Linked DNA regions of Homo sapiens: region 2 is linked to region 1. Evidence: promoter capture Hi-C in 16 types of primary human blood cells and fetal thymus (Javierre and others, 2016). All regions are on one chromosome and are shown on one strand. Each heading gives the region's core, a stretch centred on a gene start or on the middle of the fragment in contact. The rest is flanking DNA. Distances are from core to core; before and after follow the strand shown.

Region 1 (5,126 bases), core at 1,715-4,214:
TGACATATGTATCATAAAAAACAAGCAAGCTAGATTTCTCAACAAAGGTTCTCTAAGCAAGGAATACACAGACGTTACTCTTTCTCTGCAGCCTCTTTCAGGATGGGGGACTTTGATATTGCCATACATTCCTCTTAGAAATCATCTTAATTTGTTATTTTCATCTACTCTAGTGGGAAGATAAAATCACTACATGGCAGAGCCAGGAGTTTCAGGCCCATTTGGGGATTTCCTCAAGGATATCTTATAAATGTAAATTTGCTGGTTATTCATATGTATTGCTTAATTGCCTTCCCGTCTCCCCAGTGATTATGCCAGCTACCACCATTATTACTAAAAAGGTTAACTTTTTTTAAGCAATTCATTTTTCTGAACTGTGTATTAGTTTGCTAAGGGATGTCATAGCAAAAGAACCAATAAACAACATAAATGTATTTTCTCACAGTTATGGAGGCTGGAAGTCCAAGGTGTAGGCAGAGTTGGTGTCTTTTGAGGACACACTCTGTGGCTTGTAGATGATCATCTTCTCCTAGCTCTGTGTGTCTGCATCCTAATCTCTTTATAAAGACACCAGTCCTATTGGATTAGGGCCCACTCGTATGACCTCATTTTACTTTAAAGACCCTATTTCCAAATATAGTCCCATTCTGAGATGCTGGGGGTTAGGACTCCAACATGTAAATTTGGTGAGGGAGCAGAATACAATTTAGTCCATAAGAAATCATAAAACACAAATATGTAAGAGAAATGTGAGCATAAGAAAAAGTTAAAAAGCTCATACATAGCTTCCTCAGTTGGAACAAATCAAAGTGCTTTCTTGTTTTTGCCATATGCACATCTAATTATTGGCTCTTACTAGTTTACAATACCAACAGCAATGCAAGTATATGTCAGTTTTATCACAAACTCAGAATTAGGTATTCTTAAAAATAAGATTAGTTATATTTTTATTGTATTTCTCTTTTAATTCAGTTTCCCAATTTCCCTTAATGAATTTGCTAGGTTGAAGGTTTTCCTATATATATATAAATATAACTATATATATACATATTTTTTTTAATAGATGGAGTCTTGCTCTGTCACCCAGGCTGGAGTGCAGTGGCACAATCTCGGCTCACTGCAACCTCTGCCTCCCAGGTTCAAGCGATTCTCCTGCCTCAGCCTCCCTAGTAGCTGGGATTATAGGTACCTGCCACCACACCGGCTAATTTTTGTTTTTTTCTGTATTTTTAGTAGAGACAGGGTTTCACCACGTTGGCCAGGCTGGTCACTAACTCCTGACCTCACGTAATCCACCCGCCTTGGCCTCCCAAAGTGCTGGGATTACAGGTGTGAGCCAACATCCCCAGCCTTCTTTAATATATGTTATTTATAATATTGGATGTGTGTGTGTGTGTGTGTGTGTGTGTGTGTGTGTGTGTGTGTTTAAATTAATTTTCTAGTAGTTGCCTAATCTGTAGTGCTGCTTCTAGGATTTCTATTAAAAGAATATATATTAAATTCTTATTAAAGGCCAGTTATGATGGCTCATAATTAAGATGCCCTAGGAGCAACAAGAGCTGGGTGGGCTACTGATTTCCAGATGGGAATCTGGCCATGTTTATAAGACCTGGACTTGAAGATATTGGGCAGCCAACGAGGCCCATGGAGGAGAATTCTGGCGGGCTCTCCACTGAAGTACACCTACCTGCTCTCACCTTCAATTTGCCTTTAATGCCTCTCCACTTGATGTTTACGGCTAGCCACTTTTAGGATCTGAGCCATCAAGATGATGGATGAAATTGGGTTTGGAACAAGAAGGCAGGGCTATTTTGACCCAGGACACATTTCCAACATGCTGTGAAGAACTCTCAGCATCAAATAACATCTGGGTGGAAGAAGTTTTGGGAAAGAAGTCTAGCTGTAGATCACACAATGCTTCTAAATGGGAGAAAATGTCCAGCTCCATGGCTTAGATTCTTTGGGAAGTAGGATAACTGGCTATTCCATTTTAGGCAAGGCTGCCTGGCCAGAAACCCATGTCTTACCATTTCGAGTACATTATGGTTGGCTTACAAATCGTAGCCTCATAGAGAACTTTTTCTTCTTTTAGCTACTGTCTTCCTAAAATAAAAGTCTCTGTGCAAAGCAATGGAAGAAACCTCATATTGTTTTTTGGGGTTGTCATTTTATGTAACTTACAATAATGACTACGGCTCGTCTTATACAAGATGTAAAGGATTTGGGAGAGGGAATCCAGTGTGCATTTAGGGGAAGATGGTGATGTAGATAGCATATTTCAGGAGGCTGGGAAGTGTCGAGTGCTTAAATATATGCTTCTCAAATTTAATGGGCATACAAATTACCTGGTGGTATTATTAAAATGTAACCTCTAATTCAGTAGTTTTGGGATGGGTCCATGGACAGCACTTTGGTTAGTTCCCCTTGGGACTCCCCTTTCCCCTCAGAGAAGTGTAGAGGGTTGGGGTATTGGGCTTAAGAGGAGTTCCAGACTGTAACCATAGCTCTAGGTAACTCCCTTCTGGAAGTGATGTGTTAGCGACTGGAGGAGAAAGGGATCCCTGGGATCCTTTTCAGCTTTACTATTCTGATTTGGGGTTCTGAGATTCCAACAAAGTGGACTTTTGGGAGTCACAGACCTCCATGGGAATGATGAAAGCTGCGTACCTTCTTTCCGCACAAATGCAGGCCCACCTTTAATTCTGCAAACCACTTTAGGCCCCGCGGGCCCGCAGCCCTGGTCCAAGACAGCTGTCTGCTTCACAGGTCGCGCACCCAGAGCCGGGCGGTTCTGCAGCTCAGCATCTGGCCCGGGCTGCGCGTCGGGCTCTGGCGGGGGCGTGTCAGGAGGCGTGTCCGGGGCGTGTCGGAGGCGGGGCCAAGGCGGGGGTAAGCCTCGCCCCTCGGCCGTGCGAGAGGCCGAGCTTGCTGCATTGCAGCCGCCGCGGCGCCGCTCGGCTCTTCACTCCCAACAATGGCGGCTCCGAGCCCGAGCGGCGGCGGCGGCTCCGGGGGCGGCAGCGGCAGCGGCACCCCCGGCCCCGTAGGGTCCCCGGCGCCAGGCCACCCGGCCGTCAGCAGCATGCAGGGTAAGGAACGCGGCCGCGCCGAGATCCCAGCCCCCTAGCGCGGCAACCCGCGTCGTCGCGGCCTGCCCCAGCGGACGCCCCCGGACCCGGCTGAGGAAGCCACGGCAGCCGCCGGCTTCTCCCTCTCTCCCTCCCCGGCTTCCCGCCCCGCTCCCGGCCGCCTCCGGCCCGGCTTGGATCCGGGCTCCGGCCCGCATAGGCCCCGGCCGCGGCCTCTGCCTGCGCTTGGCCCCTGGGCCCTACCGGGCTCTCAGCAGGCCCGCAGGGCCCACCTGGTCCGGGACCGCCCCCGCGGCCGTCCCCATCGCCCCCGCCGCTTACCTGGCGCCCGCCCGGCCCCCGTTTCCGGGAACGCGCCGGCTCGGGGCTGCGGCGGAGCGGGAGGGGCGTCGGGCCTGCCCCCTGGTCCCTGACGCCGCTCAGGTAGGCGGCGAAGACAGCGGCCCCGGCCGGCGCCCCTCGGCCCCGCCGCCGCAGTGGGCCCCGCTCAGGGCCATCTTGGCTGTCGCCGGGCACAGCTGGAGCCGGACCACCGAGCTGACCTCGGGCTACGGGGGCCTCTTGGAACCTGCGTTTTCAAACTTTTGCAGGGTTTCTGTGCGCTGGAAGGGATGGGGGTGGGGGGCGGGTTGCCCAGGCCTGTGCCACCTGTAAGGTAGGTAGGCTGCATTGGCCTGGGAGAGGCATTTTGTTCCAGGCCAGGGATTTCTGTGTTAGCATTGCGTGCAGGAAGAAAAAAAAAAAAAAAAAAAAAGAAGACTTAATTTGGTTTAAATGGAGAGATACAGGAAATAGACAGGGGTCAAAGTGATACTGTAGTGTCTGGACATTTGAGGCAGCTCTGCTAATTAATGACTTTCCCCACTGGGAATGCTTATTAGCTGTGTATGGCTTTTGACAGGGGGTGTTGTGAAAATACCAGGCCAGGCCCGAGCCTGTTAGGGACCATTTCCTTAAATTTACTGGGGAATTTTGAGTAGTAATGCTATTTTTAAAACAGGGAATCTCAGAACTCTCTTGACAACTTTAGCAAACTGCTTGTGTTGAATTATTAACAGAATAAGGGTTGGGGTACCCTTGGTAGTCAGTGTGACCATGGTTACTTTTTGATTCCATTCCTCTTAAAGGGCTTCTAGCATTTAGTTAGGTTCAACAGACATTTATTGAATAGTTCATGTTTATAGAGCATGCCATAATTCAGAAAGAAGAGACAGGATTTTATTTATCTTTACATCCCTGTCACCCTCCCCATGAAATAATTTTAATATACATAAAAACCAGTGATAGATATATAGACAGGATGATGTCAGAGCTTAGAGGACACTTTCTGTGCAGGCCCTCAGATAATTCATTCAAATTGAATTAGTTATTGGATGCCCACTGTGTTGCACAGCACATTATACTGATGAAGTATAAGATTGACTTCCTGACTGTACAGCTTTACAATTTAGGTGGTGGTGGTTGGGGCGAAATGAAATGGCAAAATGACAATTTAGGATTGTATTTCTTGTTCCAGATGGGTGACTTACAAAGCTTATAAAAACAAGGTGATTTGTTTGTTTGTTTTATTGGTGGGGAGGCTGACAGTTTGAAATAGCTGGATACAGTGTGTTTTTTTGGTTCAAAAAATATTTATTGAGCATCTGCATAAAACGCTCATGCTGAGTTTATAGAGAATTGAACATCTCTAACTGTCCTCATGGAGGTTATCCCCCTGTGAAGATGGGGGAGGGAAGGCTATTTAGCTAAACATGAAAAATTACTAGTTGGAAAAGTAATAAAGGTAACAAGCTGGGTTTTGTGATAGAAGATAATAGAGGGCAGTCCGCTTGATAAGATGGTCAGAGAAGGCTTGTCTGGAAAGCTAACCCTCTTTTACCTGAAGACGGTTCTAGGCAGAGGAACTGTGTGTATGAAGGTTCCAAAGCAGGGAAGAGCTTGGAGTGTTCTAGGAACTCCTAAGGCAGTGGTTAGGACTTTTTCTGATGCTGTCCGTTCTCCTCAGCCCTTGTATGTTGATACCCAGTTAACTAAACT
Region 2 (5,126 bases), core at 1,409-3,908, 39 kb after region 1:
GATGAAATAAGCAAGCTAATGAAGTTAAGATATGTCACAGGATCTGGTTTCAGATCTCCTTGGCATTTGATGTCTCCTGGATGCAGGATCCTTTGCAAGATTAAAAAAAAAATTGTAAGACAGTGTTCTTTTTTTCTGAGAACCAACAGTTTAAATAAAATTCCAAGAAATGACAATTGGCTGTCGTAATTTTAGTAAGGCATAAGGTAATATGGATTGAATGTCAAATTAAAGGTGTACAAGGGGTAAATCATTTTAGAAAACCTACTTGATTAAATGCTTCCCAGAAGAACAAGATTTTACTGGATTTTGAAAGACAGGCAGGGAAGGTTGAGTGAAGAAGACAAGGGACAGTGGCATTCTGGTGAGCGTATGCACAAGAGAAGTTTTGGGAACCATGTGTAGATCTGTTTAATTGTAGCAGGGATGTTATTTATAGATTACCTATTTCTCTCTCTCACTGGAATCTTTTAGCCTGTTTTCTTTATTCTTGATATTCTGTAATTATATGAGGATAAGCCTCAAATTGCATCATCTTCCCATGTATCAGATTAACCCTTTTAGTTTCAAGATTCATGTATCTCTTTTTCTGGGAAAATTGCTGCTGCTTTCCTTTTGATACATTTCCTTCATGTTTTTCCTATCATCTTCTCCTGAAACTTGTGTTACTAGGATGTTGGACTGCCTATATCCCCTGTATCCTAGACTCTAAAAAAAAATGTGTTCCGTCTCATTGTTTTCTTACTCTGTATCCTGGGAGATTTTCTTTATTTTCCATCCCCTAAATGGAATCTTGGCAATCAGTTTTAATTTCCAAGAGTTGATTGTGGCATTTTCTTAGGATTCTATTCTTAATTTTGGATACAAAATAGGGAATTTAAAAATTCTTTTCTGTTGTTTGAATTATTGATTTCCTCAAGGATCAGTTTTTCTTTTACCTCTTTCTCAGTTTTTTTTTACATCTTATAATTTTTTTTTCATGTCTTGTTCTTGATTGTTTCTTGAATGGAAGCTTTGGTTATAGATCATCACCTGGTGGGCTTGGCTTTACTTTTCTGTGAGTATTTTGAGAGCTAGCTCTTAGGCCAGGAATATTACCAATGCTAGAATTAGTAGAGCCAAAATTCACCTTAGGAAGCCTGGTTCTCTCCAGATGTGTTTGTTCTCTTTGAAGACATGCCCCCTTTTTATTTTAGGGGAAGAATAAAGAGGAAAAGTGGAATTAACTAGACCTTTCTTTTTTTTTTTTTTTTTTTAAGTGGCAGGGTCTCACTATATTGCCCAGGCTGGTCTTGAACTCCTGGATTCCAGGGATCCTCCCGCCTCAGCCTCCCAGAGTGCTGGGATTACAGGCATGAGGTACTGCGCCTGGCCTAGAACTTCCTTATAGAAAGAAGTTTAATTAACTCTGGTTTCTAGGCCTTCATTTCTTCTGACCATGAATTCTCTCTGATCCAGTGTTCTATTGGGACCATGATTTGTCCCTCATATTCACTGCATGCCTGCCTCCTACCATGTGTTATAGGTTATAGTTTTTTCTGTTTATTTTTAAACCTTTTATTATGGAAAATTGCATACCTACCCAAAAGTAAAGTGGTAGATGAATCTGTCTTTACTGTCAATCAGCTTTAACAGCTTCAACAGTTAATAGCATGGCCAATGTTGTTTTATCTTTTCCTTCAACCCCTTAGTTTTAACCAAATCTCAGATGTTATGCAATCTACAAATATTTTAGTATGCATTTATAAAAGATAAGAGCTGCTTTTAAAAGACATAATCATAGTACCATTGCTACATCTAGTAGAATAAATCTTTAATATCATCAAATAAGCAGATGACCTCATTAGTTTTTTTATTTTTAATAGTTTGAAGTGAGGTCTATACAAGGTCCTGCATTCTATGCAGTTAGCTGATCAGTCTTTTAAACTAGAGTTCCTTCTCTTGAAATCGATTAGTTTTTCTTTGTGATACATTTTTATCTACTCAGGCATTCAGAAATTTAATTCTTTTAATTTATTGCTTATTTCCTTAAAAAAAGGATTTTTGGGGGGATCTTGGAGGATGAGGAGACAACCTGAACAGGAAACCTTGATTTTTAATTATCAATGATTAAAATTAGAAATATTTTTGACAGAAAATGCATATTATAATAGAGACTCTTGTACCCACTAACATTTTTTCCCTTGGCTTTTAAAATGAAAGATTAAACTGGATAGCCAAAGAGTACAAAGAAAAAGCAAAGGAAAAATGTGTGGCTACCTTTTAAATTTTCATCAGGTTTGGATTCTACTAAACACTATAAATCTTTTTGATACTCTAGGGATATTCTTATAAATGTGGCCAGCTTGTGTTAAAATCATGTTGTGTATATGAATTTGACAAACAGAAGTAGATATTCTGTTAAACATTCTGTGTTTTCATGATAGTGAGTTATGGTTGAGTGCTCTCAGTGTACTGAGTCGTTTAGAATATATTCAGTACAATTGTTATTCTGAAAGAACATCCCTTTTATCTTCATAACATATCACAATTGTCAAGAAAAAACACTAGCTTAAAAGTTAACACTGGAAATAAATAGTGGTGGATGCAGATAACATTTTGGGGCTTAAGAGTTTTGGAACCACACGTTTTAAGTTTAAAGTGCTCTCTTTAGACCAGAGGATCTCTAGGATTTCCCTTATCTTTGTTTATTACATTGGAACAGACAGAGACTCAGTTGTGCTATAGAACATCTAGGAGTAGTTTAAAGAGGTTTCAAAGTCCCTAGTTAATAACTAATATTCCTCGTATTTCTTGATGAGCCTTCTCAGTAGAACTTTATCTTAAAACTTAGAATTTCTTCTTCTCTTGGTTAAATTGTGAGAACTGTGTCTTATAAACGTTGCTGTCTTAGAATTAATGACGAGGCCGGGCACAGTTGCTCACGCCTGCAATCCCAGCACTTTGGGAGGTCGAGGCAGGAGGATTGCTTGAGCCAAGAAGTTCGAGACCAGGCTGGGCAACATGGCAAAACCCCATTTCTACAAAAATAGAAAAAATTAGCCACGTGTGATGGTGTGCGCCTGTGGTCCCAGCTACTTGGGAGGCTGAGGTAGAAGGGTCAGTTGAGCCCTGGAGGTTGAGGCTACAGTGTACCACTGCACTCCAGCCTGTGTAAGAGTTGAGACTCTGTCTCTATTAAAAAAAAAAAAAATTGTTTTTAAAAAGAAATAACAATGGGTAGAAATTTAGGAGTCTGGATTTCTATCCTGGTGTTGTCGTTATCTCTGTGTCCTTGACTTTATCACTTAATTCTGCTCTCAATTTAGGCATTGAATTAGAATAGCGACATACACTATTTTATATAATGAATAGGAAGGGGAGAGAATTAAGCCAGCCTTGCACTGCCTTCTTTAAATAAAGTCTCATGTACAAAACTGATAGGCTAAAAAGATAAAGGAGGAACTGTGCTGACTGAAGTGTTTGTGAGGTGGGAGAGAGTTTTGTAGCGTTGTCTGCCTTCATTCCCCAGAATAGTCCCAGGACATCTCTGGTGGATTTCTAAGTGTGAATACCTCTAATCTACATGAATTTGGAAGTTTTTTTCTGTCTCTGAAATTTTTTGAAGCAATCATGATACTGTGAAATCTCTGCATTTCTGTGGTGGACCACTTTTACAAAATAGCGGTAATGGTAGAAGTATTTATGGGTATGTATTAATAGATGATGTTTAATCTCAAATGTGTTAAATACTATGGGGTGTGTGTGTGTGTGTGTGCGCGCGTGTGTGTGTGTGGCTGGTTTGGTGCTACTGCTGCGAATCTTTTTTCTTACTGTAGTAAATATACATAACGTAAAAATTTTTATCTTAACCATTTTAAGTATACAGTTCATTGGGATTAATTGTGTTCACATTGTTGTACATTTGTCACCATCATCCATCTCTAGAACTTTTTCATCTTCTCAGATCGAACTTCTGTACCCGTTAAGCAATAAGTCCTTATTCTCCCTTCCTTCTAGCCCTGGCGCCCACCATTCTACTTTCTGTCTCTATGAATCTAACTACTTTTTAGGTACCTCTCATAAGTGGAATCATAACAATATTTATTTTGTGTCTAGCTTATCTCATTCAAAATAATGTCTTCAAGGTTCATTCATGTTGTAGAATGTATCTTTCTCCACCCTTCTTTTTAAGGGTGAATAAATATTATTTTATTGTTATGTGTATGCAGCATTTTGTTTAGCCATTCATCTGTTGTTGGACATTTGGGTTGTTTGTACCTTTTGGCTCTAGTAAATAATGATGCTGTGTTTGGGATAATCTTTAAAGCTTAGATCATTGTACTTCTTAATGTTACAGTTTAGGGATATTCAGTCTTATCTTTAGTCCCACATTCCACCTCAGTGTACCTGAGGCTGTGGTACACTTCCATAAGTCAGCAATTCACTGGAGAAGTGATTCTCGACAGAGGTGGCAGTGGTAATAGGAGTGGTAGAACTGATTTTCTTTGTGGGCCCCTACCCCCTTGAGATTCACATTCCCTTCAAGCTGGATGTTTATAGCTGAGGTGGTGGATGCTAATTCTGGAATATGTATTTGCATAGATTAATGATACATGCTGTTGAGTTGTGTGCTTTTGGTGTTATAAATCATCTTTGTTCTTGAATCAGAGACTGAGGCAGACATTAGAAGATAGCCCTGGTTTTTTAACCCACAGTACTTCTAAGTGCTGCTCCTTGAAGATACATCTGACTTCTTAGCTATTGATGAGTTTTCCAACCATTTCTAATCAGGCAGTTATGTTTTTGAGTTCTGATTTCAATCAGAATATTATAAGGCCTTTTATCTTTGCAGTATGTATGTTTCTGGAAACTTTTATCTATTATTAAGGAAATTTGCTATATGAAGGTAACTTTTTTCAGTGTGTTTTTTTTTAAATTATCTACAACTGAGTAACAGTATGATTATATTATTGTTCTTGAGCAAATTTGTTTTCCCCAGAGTTAATAACTGCCTCATATATGGTTCACTGTGAATCTTCTCTCAACATAGTTAAATACATCAGTTGGTCACTCAGTTCTCCCCCTCTCCCCCCCCTTTTTTTCTTTTTTTGAGTTAGCTATCCATCCATACTCTTGCTTTAATC

Evidence for each region. Contacts are between HindIII fragments. The CHiCAGO score rates a contact against its expected background, and 5 or more counts as called.
Region 2: a fragment that was not itself captured here is called in contact with the fragment with the promoter of MAP2K4 in region 1 in 6 of 17 cell types (activated CD4 T cells, naive CD8 T cells, total CD8 T cells and 3 more); the score reaches 9.0 in activated CD4 T cells.

The regions. Positions count from the first base shown.
Region 1 is chr17:12,017,913-12,023,038 of GRCh38, forward strand. It overlaps MAP2K4 (mitogen-activated protein kinase kinase 4), which reads left to right and starts at 2,965. Exons shown (of 11, transcript NM_003010.4): 1 at 2,965-3,089. The coding sequence starts at 2,975. It also overlaps a transcript of ZNF18 not described here. RefSeq lists an enhancer at 2,765-3,265 and a silencer at 2,802-3,681. The HindIII fragment of the contact is 6,257 bases long and covers 1-4,620 here.
Region 2 is chr17:12,056,991-12,062,116 of GRCh38, forward strand. The region is part of intron 2 of MAP2K4 (mitogen-activated protein kinase kinase 4); the gene reads left to right. Among named protein-coding and RNA genes, the nearest start is that of MIR744, 22 kb to the right of the region's middle. The HindIII fragment of the contact is 3,297 bases long and covers 1,011-4,307 here.